3 separate regions of the Homo sapiens genome follow, and regions 1 and 2 are each linked to region 3. Evidence: promoter capture Hi-C in 16 types of primary human blood cells and fetal thymus (Javierre and others, 2016). All regions are on one chromosome and are shown on one strand. The core of a region is centred on a gene start or on the middle of the fragment in contact, and the rest is flanking DNA. Distances in the headings are between cores, read along the strand shown.

What was found. The method cuts DNA at HindIII sites, captures the fragments that hold promoters and counts their contacts. A CHiCAGO score of 5 or more calls a contact.
Region 1: the fragment with the promoter of TTC32 here is called in contact with the fragment with the promoter of NBAS in region 3 in 10 of 17 cell types (naive CD4 T cells, naive CD8 T cells, non-activated CD4 T cells and 7 more); the score reaches 17.1 in naive CD4 T cells.
Region 2: a contact is called between the fragment with the promoter of LPIN1 here and the fragment with the promoter of NBAS in region 3, in 6 of 17 cell types (total CD8 T cells, naive CD8 T cells, erythroblasts and 3 more). The highest score is 8.4, in total CD8 T cells.

Annotation. Positions count from the first base shown.
Region 1 is chr2:19,900,476-19,903,387 of GRCh38, forward strand. TTC32 (tetratricopeptide repeat domain 32) reads right to left here and starts at 1,508. Exons shown (of 3, transcript NM_001008237.3): 1 at 1,231-1,508. The coding sequence starts at 1,379. RefSeq lists enhancers at 469-1,350, 601-790, 931-990, 1,071-1,170, 1,351-2,231 and 1 more. The HindIII fragment of the contact is 3,134 bases long and covers 1-2,633 here.
Region 2 is chr2:11,745,179-11,748,301 of GRCh38, forward strand. It overlaps LPIN1 (lipin 1), which reads left to right and starts at 1,454. Exons shown (of 21, transcript NM_001349206.2): 1 at 1,454-1,493. LOC124907735 (a long non-coding RNA gene) reads right to left here and starts at 281. Exons shown (of 2, transcript XR_007086220.1): 1 at 1-281. RefSeq lists enhancers at 1-194, 2,706-3,123 and a silencer at 1,133-1,702. The HindIII fragment of the contact is 2,521 bases long and covers 1-2,389 here.
Region 3 is chr2:15,559,810-15,562,849 of GRCh38, forward strand. It overlaps NBAS (NBAS subunit of NRZ tethering complex), which reads right to left and starts at 1,525. Exons shown (of 52, transcript NM_015909.4): 1 at 1,379-1,525. The coding sequence starts at 1,495. LOC105373440 (a long non-coding RNA gene) reads left to right here and starts at 2,339. Exons shown (of 4, transcript XR_001739297.2): 1 at 2,339-2,374. RefSeq lists an enhancer at 1,315-1,724. The HindIII fragment of the contact is 4,253 bases long and covers 1-1,551 here.

The sequences.
Region 1 (2,912 bases), core at 258-2,757, 4.3 Mb after region 3:
AAGCTGGCATCCTGTCCAGAAAACTCAAATCCACAACAGACAACTCACAACTATTCAAAAAGCTGTTCAACCAACCCCTCTGTTCTTTTCTCATCCTGATCCACTCCATACCATCAACAAGCCCAGTCGAGGCAAGACTTGGAGTAAAAACAAATGCTACACATCCAGGCACAAGCCGAAAAGATGCTTTGGGCAAGCAGACAGTAACAGGTGAAGCCGCTCACATCACAAAGAGAAAGTCAGCGAATCGTTATGTGCTTCCTGGTGAAAGTACACACACCCACCTAAAAAGTATTCTTGCCATGATATTGAATCTGAATTCAATTGGATCAAACCTCAAGGTTTAACCACCAATTCACAGCAATATGAGACAGATGACCACATTAAACGACAGAAGAGATTCAGTCAGCAAGTCCAAAACACGGAAATTCAAAGGACACAAGAATCGGTTTCCTCAACAAATAAAGAGGGGAAGGTGGAGAAGAGACTTAAAAAGACTTGATGTGTATCCTGACTTGAACTAACTGCGAAAAGGGAACCAAAGAACAAAACACCTTATTAGTCGATCAGAATGGTTCCAACACTGACGACTTGATATTAAGTAACTATGTGATGATGACATGGTGGTTCCTTCTGAAACATCCATGGATGAATACAATAGGTAAACTGATAATGCTTAAGCCAAGTGATAAACACCTAGACGTTCGTTATGCTCTCTTCCACATATTTAAACGTTTTTCACAAGTGAAAAACACCACCAAGAGCCTGCGCCGTGACACTGAGATGGGAGTCGCGGTACTGTGGCCCTACGCAGCCGTGACCCCTTCCCTTCCCAGGTCGCGGATTTCCCGCCAGCTAAAATCACGAGTGGAAAATTCCTATCTGTCCTAAGTCTCTGGGTGCGAATGAGGAACGTGGAAGGAGAGACGGCGGGGTGAGAGGCGGCGGCCCGCGCCCGAGGATCGCGCAGAGGGCTTGGTTCCCGGAAATCTCTCCGCACCGTCGCGGCAGCTGGCTCCTCACGGGTGGGCTTCTCCCCGCGTTCTCCGCCGCCCTCGTCCTAGGCCTCGCCTAGGCCTTTCTAGAAAGACGAACGTCCGCCCGCTCAGTCCTAGTGCTGGGTTATGACAAGCGCCGACCGTGAGCTCCAGAGGCAAAGATAGGAGCCCAAACAACCCCAACGTCGCCTCCACCCGGGGTCGCCGCGGCCCCAGGTCTCGCGATAGTTACCTCCCGGGACTCTCGTCGCTGGAGGCCGCGCAAGCGCACCGGCGAATGTAAGCGGAGTACAGTGCCTCGGCCTCCGCGTACTCTCCATTGTTGAAATGAGCCTGGGCGAGTGTTAGGGTTGCGTGGCTTTCTTGCCGCTGTCCTTCCATAGCAGCCAAGGCCTAGTTTTCGGTGTAGAATGGGGGTTGACCTCCGAGCGGTTAGAGGTGGCACCACAAAGCCACTTCCACACCCTGGAATCTACCTTGACAGCCAACCTTGGCGCTAGGTTTGTGCCTTATGGGGATCCGTCGTCTCGCGAGATAACGGTTCCGCTGCTGGCGGGGCGTTTGCAGTGGCCCTTGTGAACTATGTTTCTGCCGTTACCAGTGTTGGACCCGCCTTCCTCTTTTCCTAGAAAAGGCGCAGATGCGTGGTCGCAAACTGATTTCCAAGTCCGTTGTCTGATGCTGCGAGACACTATCCGTTTGTTACAGCGAATTGGGGGCCGATGACGCTGGAGGTGGAAGAAGCCGCGGTTCTGTTTCTTAATGGCGAATTAGCCTGCGGACGTCCTGTCATTCCCTTGCCTTTTAGCGTCCCAACTTAGCAAAACTCCGCGTTTAGGGTGTTCTGAGTAGGCTTTGTCTACCCTGAAACGCTTTGTGTCGACATTCCACCAGGTCTGTTCCACGGTCCAAACTTCTCTACCTTTTTTGACCCTCTAGAATTGTGTTACGATTAGTAGTATATTGTGTCGAGAGTCTGGGATCTTTGATGTTAGTTATATTCCCTGGCTGTTTATGCCAAAGGGAAATCCAAATAGTAATTTATTACGTACATTACGTATAATTCAAATTAAAATTTTGTAAGAACAGTTGCCAACCACGCTACCCTACATGCCTGCTGTGTATCTTCTCGGCGTCCCTCGATTCTGTTTTGCTTCCCAAAGTACTTGAGCCCTTTCCGTCATAAAAAGTAAAGATGAAAAATATATTTGGAGCATGATACTTACATGCGGAAGTCTTAACAGGACATAAATTGTGTGCTTTTGGCTGCTTTCATTAGATTTTTAATTTTTTCCTTTTACCACCACTGAAAAAAATACAAATACAGTGGATTAAGGTTAAATTAAAAAGCACTAGTAGAAATTAAAAGATTGCAAGACTACAAAAAAATAAACTGGCATTTCTGGTGTAAGCAAATGGACAGCTCAATAGAACAAAAGCCCAGAAACATACCTCAAATAGGCTGTATTTTGTAAAAGACATGTAACATATATGGGGAAAGGACAGATTATTCAAATGAGTGCTATTGGGAGGATTAGTTAACCATTTGGGGAAAAATACATTTAAGCATTTAAGCTCCCAATTGACATAATATTCATTCCAGGTGAATTAAAAGATTAAATAAATAAGATAAAAAGCTTTTTTTTTTCAGTTCCCATTTATTTTTGCCTCTTGGAGCAATGTCATCTTTTCAATATGAAAAAAACAAAACAAAAAACAAATCTGAAGTACAGGATAGAACAAAACCAAGTGTGTTGGGGGAAGCAACAGCAAAGGGAAGACAAGATGTTGCAAAAAAAAAAATGGAGGGGGGATTCCCCTCTCCTCTGGGGAATGACTCAAACACTGATGTGGCAGCGTACACTATTCTACATAAAGCCAGGGATGTTAATCCTTTTGGGGGATAAGAAAAAG
Region 2 (3,123 bases), core at 204-2,703, 3.8 Mb before region 3:
CATCACACACCTCCACCGGTTCCATTCATCAGTAAGCCTGTGGGTTTTGCCTCCAAATCTCTCTGAAGTCCTTCCGCTTCTTGCTGAGTAGCCCCTGTAATCTGAGCCACCATCATGTCCCCCGGTTTCCTGCAGTGCCACCTGTCTGCTGGCTTCTACTCCTGCAGTCCATTTTCCATGGAGTGGAGGGGTGACTTTTTAAAGAAGTAAATTAGATCATATAATTCCCAGGTTTAAAATTCTTTTTGGACCAGGCGTGGTGGTTCACACCTGTAATCTCAGCACTTTGGGAAGCCAAGGTGGGAAGACTGCTTGAGCCCAGCAGTTTGAGACCAGCCTGGGCAACATAGGGAGACCTGGTCTCTACAAATAGTTTGAAAAATTAGCTGGGCGTGGTGGCATGCACCTGTGGTCCCAGCTACTTGAGAGGCTGAGGCAGGAGGATTGCCTGAGGCCAGAAGGTGAAGGCTGCAGTGAACCGAGATTGTGCCACTGCACTGTAGCTTGGGTGACAGAGTGGGACCCTGTCTCAAAAAGAATTGGTTTGGAATAACATTTAAATAATACCTAAACTCCTTGCCTTGGCCTACAAGACCTGAATATTTGGCCCCTGCCTTCCCTCCAGCCCACAGCACCGGCCCCAGGACCTTTGCACCTGCCATTTCTGCTCTCCAGAAAGCCCTGCCTCCTCCCCATCTTTGTAGTCATAGGTGTTTCTTGTCATTTAGAGTTTCAGTTCAAATATGACACCCTCCCATTGATGGAAATCATTTCACCACCAGACGTTATGTGGCTCATTGTTTATCCGCTGCCTGCCTCCCGGCTGGAGAGGCGCAGGGAGCTGCCTGTCCCTCCTGTTCAGAGCCACCGTTCCGCACCTGGACCACCGCTTGGCAGAGGCGGGAGTGGAGGCTGTCACCATCAGGATGAAGGACAGGGGTGGCCCGGCGTGGAGAAGCTAAGAAGAGATGGCGATAGGTCAACGCGATTGCGCCTTTAAGGTGGAAGAAACGAAGGGCGAGGGTCAGTAAAGTCAAGGACGGGCTCAGATCCCGCCACTGGTGATAAGCGGGACCCATAGGACCGACGTGATCGCGGCCAGGCCCTGGGTGGTTTACCTGGACTTTTACCTGGCTGCCTTTTCTCTGCACCCCTCCGTCCTCACTCCCCCAGTCATCGGCATAGGTCAAGTCAGAGTGTTGAAGAAACACACGAGTTTGGCTCTGGAAAGGAAAATCAGAAAGGCGGCCTAAGGGGCCCCACCCCCAGGAACGCTAAGATAGGCGGCCAGGGGTGAGCGGGCAGGGCCGGCCAGCAGGCCCTGAAAGCAGCCGGGCCACCAGCGCGTCCCGAGTCCCCCTCGCACCGCCCCGCTTGCCCCGCCCCTGCCCTCTGCCCCCGCCCCTGCCCCGCCCCCGAAGGCGAGCTGCGCTGACAGCCGGCGGCGGGCTGGGTGTTTGCAATACAAAGGCGGCCACGCGCGGCGCCGCTCGGTGAGTAGCCGCCGCCTCCAGCCTCCCGCTGTGGAGCAGGGGCCGCAGCCTCGGGTTAGGCGGGGCGGGGCGCGGCGCCGGGGCGCTGAGGACGCGTGGCGAGGCGGGGGCTCGGCCCCGGGGCCCGAGGACCGACGGCCGGGCTACGTCCCCGGGGCCCTCTACGGGAAGTGGTTCGGGGGAGGGAGGCGGGGAAACAGGCCCCGGAGGCCGGGAGGGCCTCGCGAGCATCCCTCGGGCCTGGCTTTCCTGACGCGCCGCGAGGCCCGGTGTGGGCCCGGCTTGGCTGATCTCGAGCGGCGTAGGGGCCACTGGGGGCTGCCGCGCAGTCCCAGAACCGCGGGGACTAGCTCCAGCCGGCCAGCGCGGGTGCGTCCTGGCTCTGCGCGATCATCCCCAGCTTTGCGCCGGGGACTGGGATGAGAGCCTTTCTTTCCCCCGGAGTTAGGATTCCAGCGCTGCAGTTGAGGAAACTGAGGCTCAGGGAGGTTGACCTCTGTGCCCAAGGTCATACAGTTGCCGGGCGGCAGGGCAGGCTGAGCCCAGGTTGGAATCCCGGTTCTCATATTACAGCTCTCCCCTGCGAGGCCTCTGCACCTTTCTTGCAGCCTAGGAGGTGCTAGGCCTAGTGAGCTCCGTCAGCTGCTCCTGCACGTAATTTTATTATGGGCAAGGCCAGGAAAATGCAGGATGAGAAGTAACGTTTTGGGAGTAACTTAAGTGCTGTGGAGCTAGAGTAGGTAATTTGTGTGGTCAGTAGTTGCTGGAGAAAGCAGATGTCAACCCTGTTTTTGATCAGCAAGCAGGAAACCAACTAAGACAACTGGCAGTATTAATTTGGAGATGTTTTAGAACCCGGCAGTTTCCCACAGGATAGAAGTGTTTTGGGAAATCAAAGCTTGTAGCCGTTTTTTTAATTGGGGGTGTTGTGGTATGGTGGTCTAGGGGTAGTGATTGTGAGATTGACTGTTTATCCTTTGTTCCGTAATTTGGGTCTTATTAATGAAAGTAAGCAGTTGAGGAATGTATAGTATTTGAGAAATAAGCACATCCACACATGAACACTTTTCTTGCTCCCAGATTCTTGTTGAAAGGTGTAACAGTTGGATTTATGATTATATACTTTGATAGCACTTCACGTTTGCCAGCATTTGTTATTGAGTGTTTTTGTGCATGGGTTGTGTGTTTTGGCGCTTATTATTCCTATTTGCATGTGGGGCCCTGTGGTCCTGTGGAGCCAGGCCTGGATATAGCCCTGGACTCGGGTCGGGAGGTCTGGGCTCTGCCTGAGCTCTGTGGGACCCTGAGCGAGTTCTTTCACCCACCCAGGTCTCGCTTATCAGCAGTTCCTTTCTTTTAGAAAAGCACAGGGGGACAAGGGGCGGACCTGCTGAGTCTTGTGGTGTGGGAGAGAACGCGAGGGTTCAGGTGAGAGACCGCAGGGATTCCTGGTTGTAGGGGGGACCTTGGAAGTGACTGAGAAGGAGCCTGCCCTGGATTAGGTGGGGACAATTGGCCTGGCCCAGCCAGAAGGAAGTCTGTGGGTCCTGCTCTCCTGCTCTTTGCGTGGTCAGCTGCACAAAGGGCCCAGAACAGACGGCAGGGGAGGGTCAGGAGATGAAAAGATATT
Region 3 (3,040 bases), core at 275-2,774:
GGTAAGCATTCTGAAACATTACTGCAATTAACCAATGAGTGTTAAGGAGTGGAAACTTATCTAACCAGCTGCCTCAGCAACAGCTTCCTAGCTGCATAACCCAAAAAATATTCACATTAAGACAAACTAAGTACTTGAAATTAAACAGTAATATATGCAGATCTCTACCCGTCTACAAAATAAATTATTCATGATAAGCACAAACTGCAGTGGGAAGGAGGCTACAGAGGAAAAAAATACAAACTTTGGGCTGAAAAATGAGTCGTTTCTCCAGCAAAGAAACACTCAGAAAAAATGTAAGATAACTCACATGGGCTGGACTACATAATCTTTAATAAAGGTTCTTTTCGATCTGGCTGCTTCCTCTGGGTCTAAAACAGTAACTGGCACGTGTTAAGCACTCAATAAATATCTGTTAAATAAACATGGATCCAAAAAATAATAATAATAAAAAATAAAATAAAATAAACATGGATCCATGGTTCCTACTCTTCATCACAGACCCGGGAGGCCTTCACTACCAAACAACTGATAATCCCAAGATCCAGTCCATAAATTATCAACCTCTATAACCCTTCTGTAGCGGAGATCCCAATCCCAGTCAGCAGCTCTTTACTCTGCACTTCCGTGGCATTTTGCTCACATCGCTAACTATAGCGCATAAAACGCTAGGTTATGAAAAACGTTTACGGGACTGTCTCCCCTCTAGACGAGAAGCTCCACGAAAACATATTCATCTCTGTATCCTTAGCACCTAGCACAGCACCTGTGACACCGAGACAGACGAACGGACACGCACACCCTTATTAAATGCTCTTTTATTGAAACACACAAGACCTGGCGCGATCCAGCCCCCAGTATGGGTAAAGGCTCAGATTCTGCGCTCTGCACCAGCCTGGCAGATGCTGCAGACTGTAAGGTCCTGGAAAATTCTCCCATCGCAGTTGAGCGTCGGCCCAGACTAGCCCTAGCCAGACCGCGAGAAGGGACCACTGAGGGTCCAGATAGGAGAAAGGACCCTCGAGTCCAGCGCTGTGCCTTCCCCTCCTAATACAGAGAGCGACACTAACAATCCCCTCTCCTCCCAATACAGAGAGCGAAACTGAGAACCAAAGTGGGATCGTACGCTCCCCAGAGCACGAAGTTCCAGCCCCCAACAACCGAATTCTGAGCCCAGGAAGAATCTCAGGGACCACCACCCCACCCCGCCCTAGACCCCCGCTAGCCCAAGGTGCCGTTGCCAAGGCGACCGCACAAGCCAACCGGCCCTAGTCCCCCACCCACCCGTCTCCACTCCCCTACGTGGCTCCTGCTACGTGGCTCTACCCACGAAGCGCCCGCGCCAAGCTGGCTGCTGCTGTAGATGGGCCTGGTTCACCTGTACTTCAGTCTCCGGTGGCCACTCGGTGTTGACCAACAAGTCATAGAGAATCGTCTCCTCCTCACCCTCTGCAGTGCCTGGACTCAAAGCCGGCCCTGACTCGGGGGCCGCCATGTTCGCCGAGGACTCAGGCAGCGGAGGAGTGTCTCTACGGAATCCCTCACAGGACAAGCTTCTCTATCCGCGGCCGCTTTTGTTTCACGGCAAGGAAATGCTAGGTTAACCCTTTTATGAGTAGGAAGGACAGGGACTATTGCTTGTCTTGGGAACGACTTGTGTCCCGGTCCTGATACACTCCTTGTTCATTAATCTACATGAGATCGGCCAAGTCATTGAGCCTCTCTTATAACTCAGTTTCCATAAAACAGAAATGGTAAAGGTACCCCACTGAAATGCTAATGTTCATTTGTATATTCTTTGCCTAACACGTAGAGAGAGTTCAAACAGTGGTTTTAAAATAAACAACTAAAGTTATCCAATGAAAGGTAGCAGAGGAAGGATGCTACAGGAGCTCAGAAAAGGCAACGAAGGCCAGAGTCTGCAGGGATTTCCTGGAGGACGTGGAGCTTGTCCCTGCGTCTTTAACAATAGGCAGAATTTTAATCTACTGGAGAAGCATTTCAAGTAGCGGGAAATGGAATGAGCAGAGACAGAGGCAGAAATACAGAGTTGAAAGAACTCTTTCAACGTGTCGCCAGTGAGTGACGACTTTCTCAGTGTGGGAGTAAAAGAATTTACCAAGACAGTGGTAGATAAAGAAAGACAGATTAAAGAAAGTATGAAAGTTCGTTGCCAGGGAGCAGCGGGCCGACTCAGCAGAGGAGGAGCTCATTGCTAGGAAACAAAGGCTTGTTGAGAATTTTATAGACTGGAACTTGGAGTGATTGATAACACCAGGTAGCAGGGAGTTAACTTGCTTTTTTTTTTTCTTTCTTTCTTTTTTTTTTTTTTTTTTTGTCAGCTGAAGTGTTTCAGAAATTGAGGCATTTGAAGGTAAGCAGGAAGTTTGTGAGTTAAGTACGTTATCTGGGTAGAAGGGCCATATGTCCTGGGCCATAAAGAAAAGTAGACCTATGGCTTATTTGTTTCTTCCTTTTGTTTATATGTTTTGGACCATGAAGAAAGACAGACGTATAGCTAATTTGCCTTATCTCTTTGTTTTTCCCTGCTCCCACTAGCCTGCCTTTTTTTTTTTCCTAATTAGTACTCAACAAGACGGGTGAATAGAACCCAAGTTGAGAAAGGGTGTAGGGGCAATAAAGTTGAAATAATAGGTTGAGAACCCGCATGGAGGGAGCGAAAAGGTCAACCCCATTTGTTCATTCATTCATTCATTCAACAAATACCTCTTTGTGGACAGTTATAAGCAGAGCCTACTGTAACATGAATGAATATATACTGTACAAAGTATTACACTGTTTCACATCAAAAGAAACACAAATACTGAATATCCCTTGAGATAATTATATTCATGATATCCATCAAGATGCATTAGGCGGTGATGCAATTAAAAGCCTCTGCTGGGAAGCCTCTAACCAGCTCCCATTTCTCTCAAAGTTTAATGACCTCAAAGCCCTACGTCATCTGCCTGCTCCCCTAAATCTCACACCTCATTTCCTGCTCCCCCTACTACCTTCAGCCACACTGGCTCTATTTCTG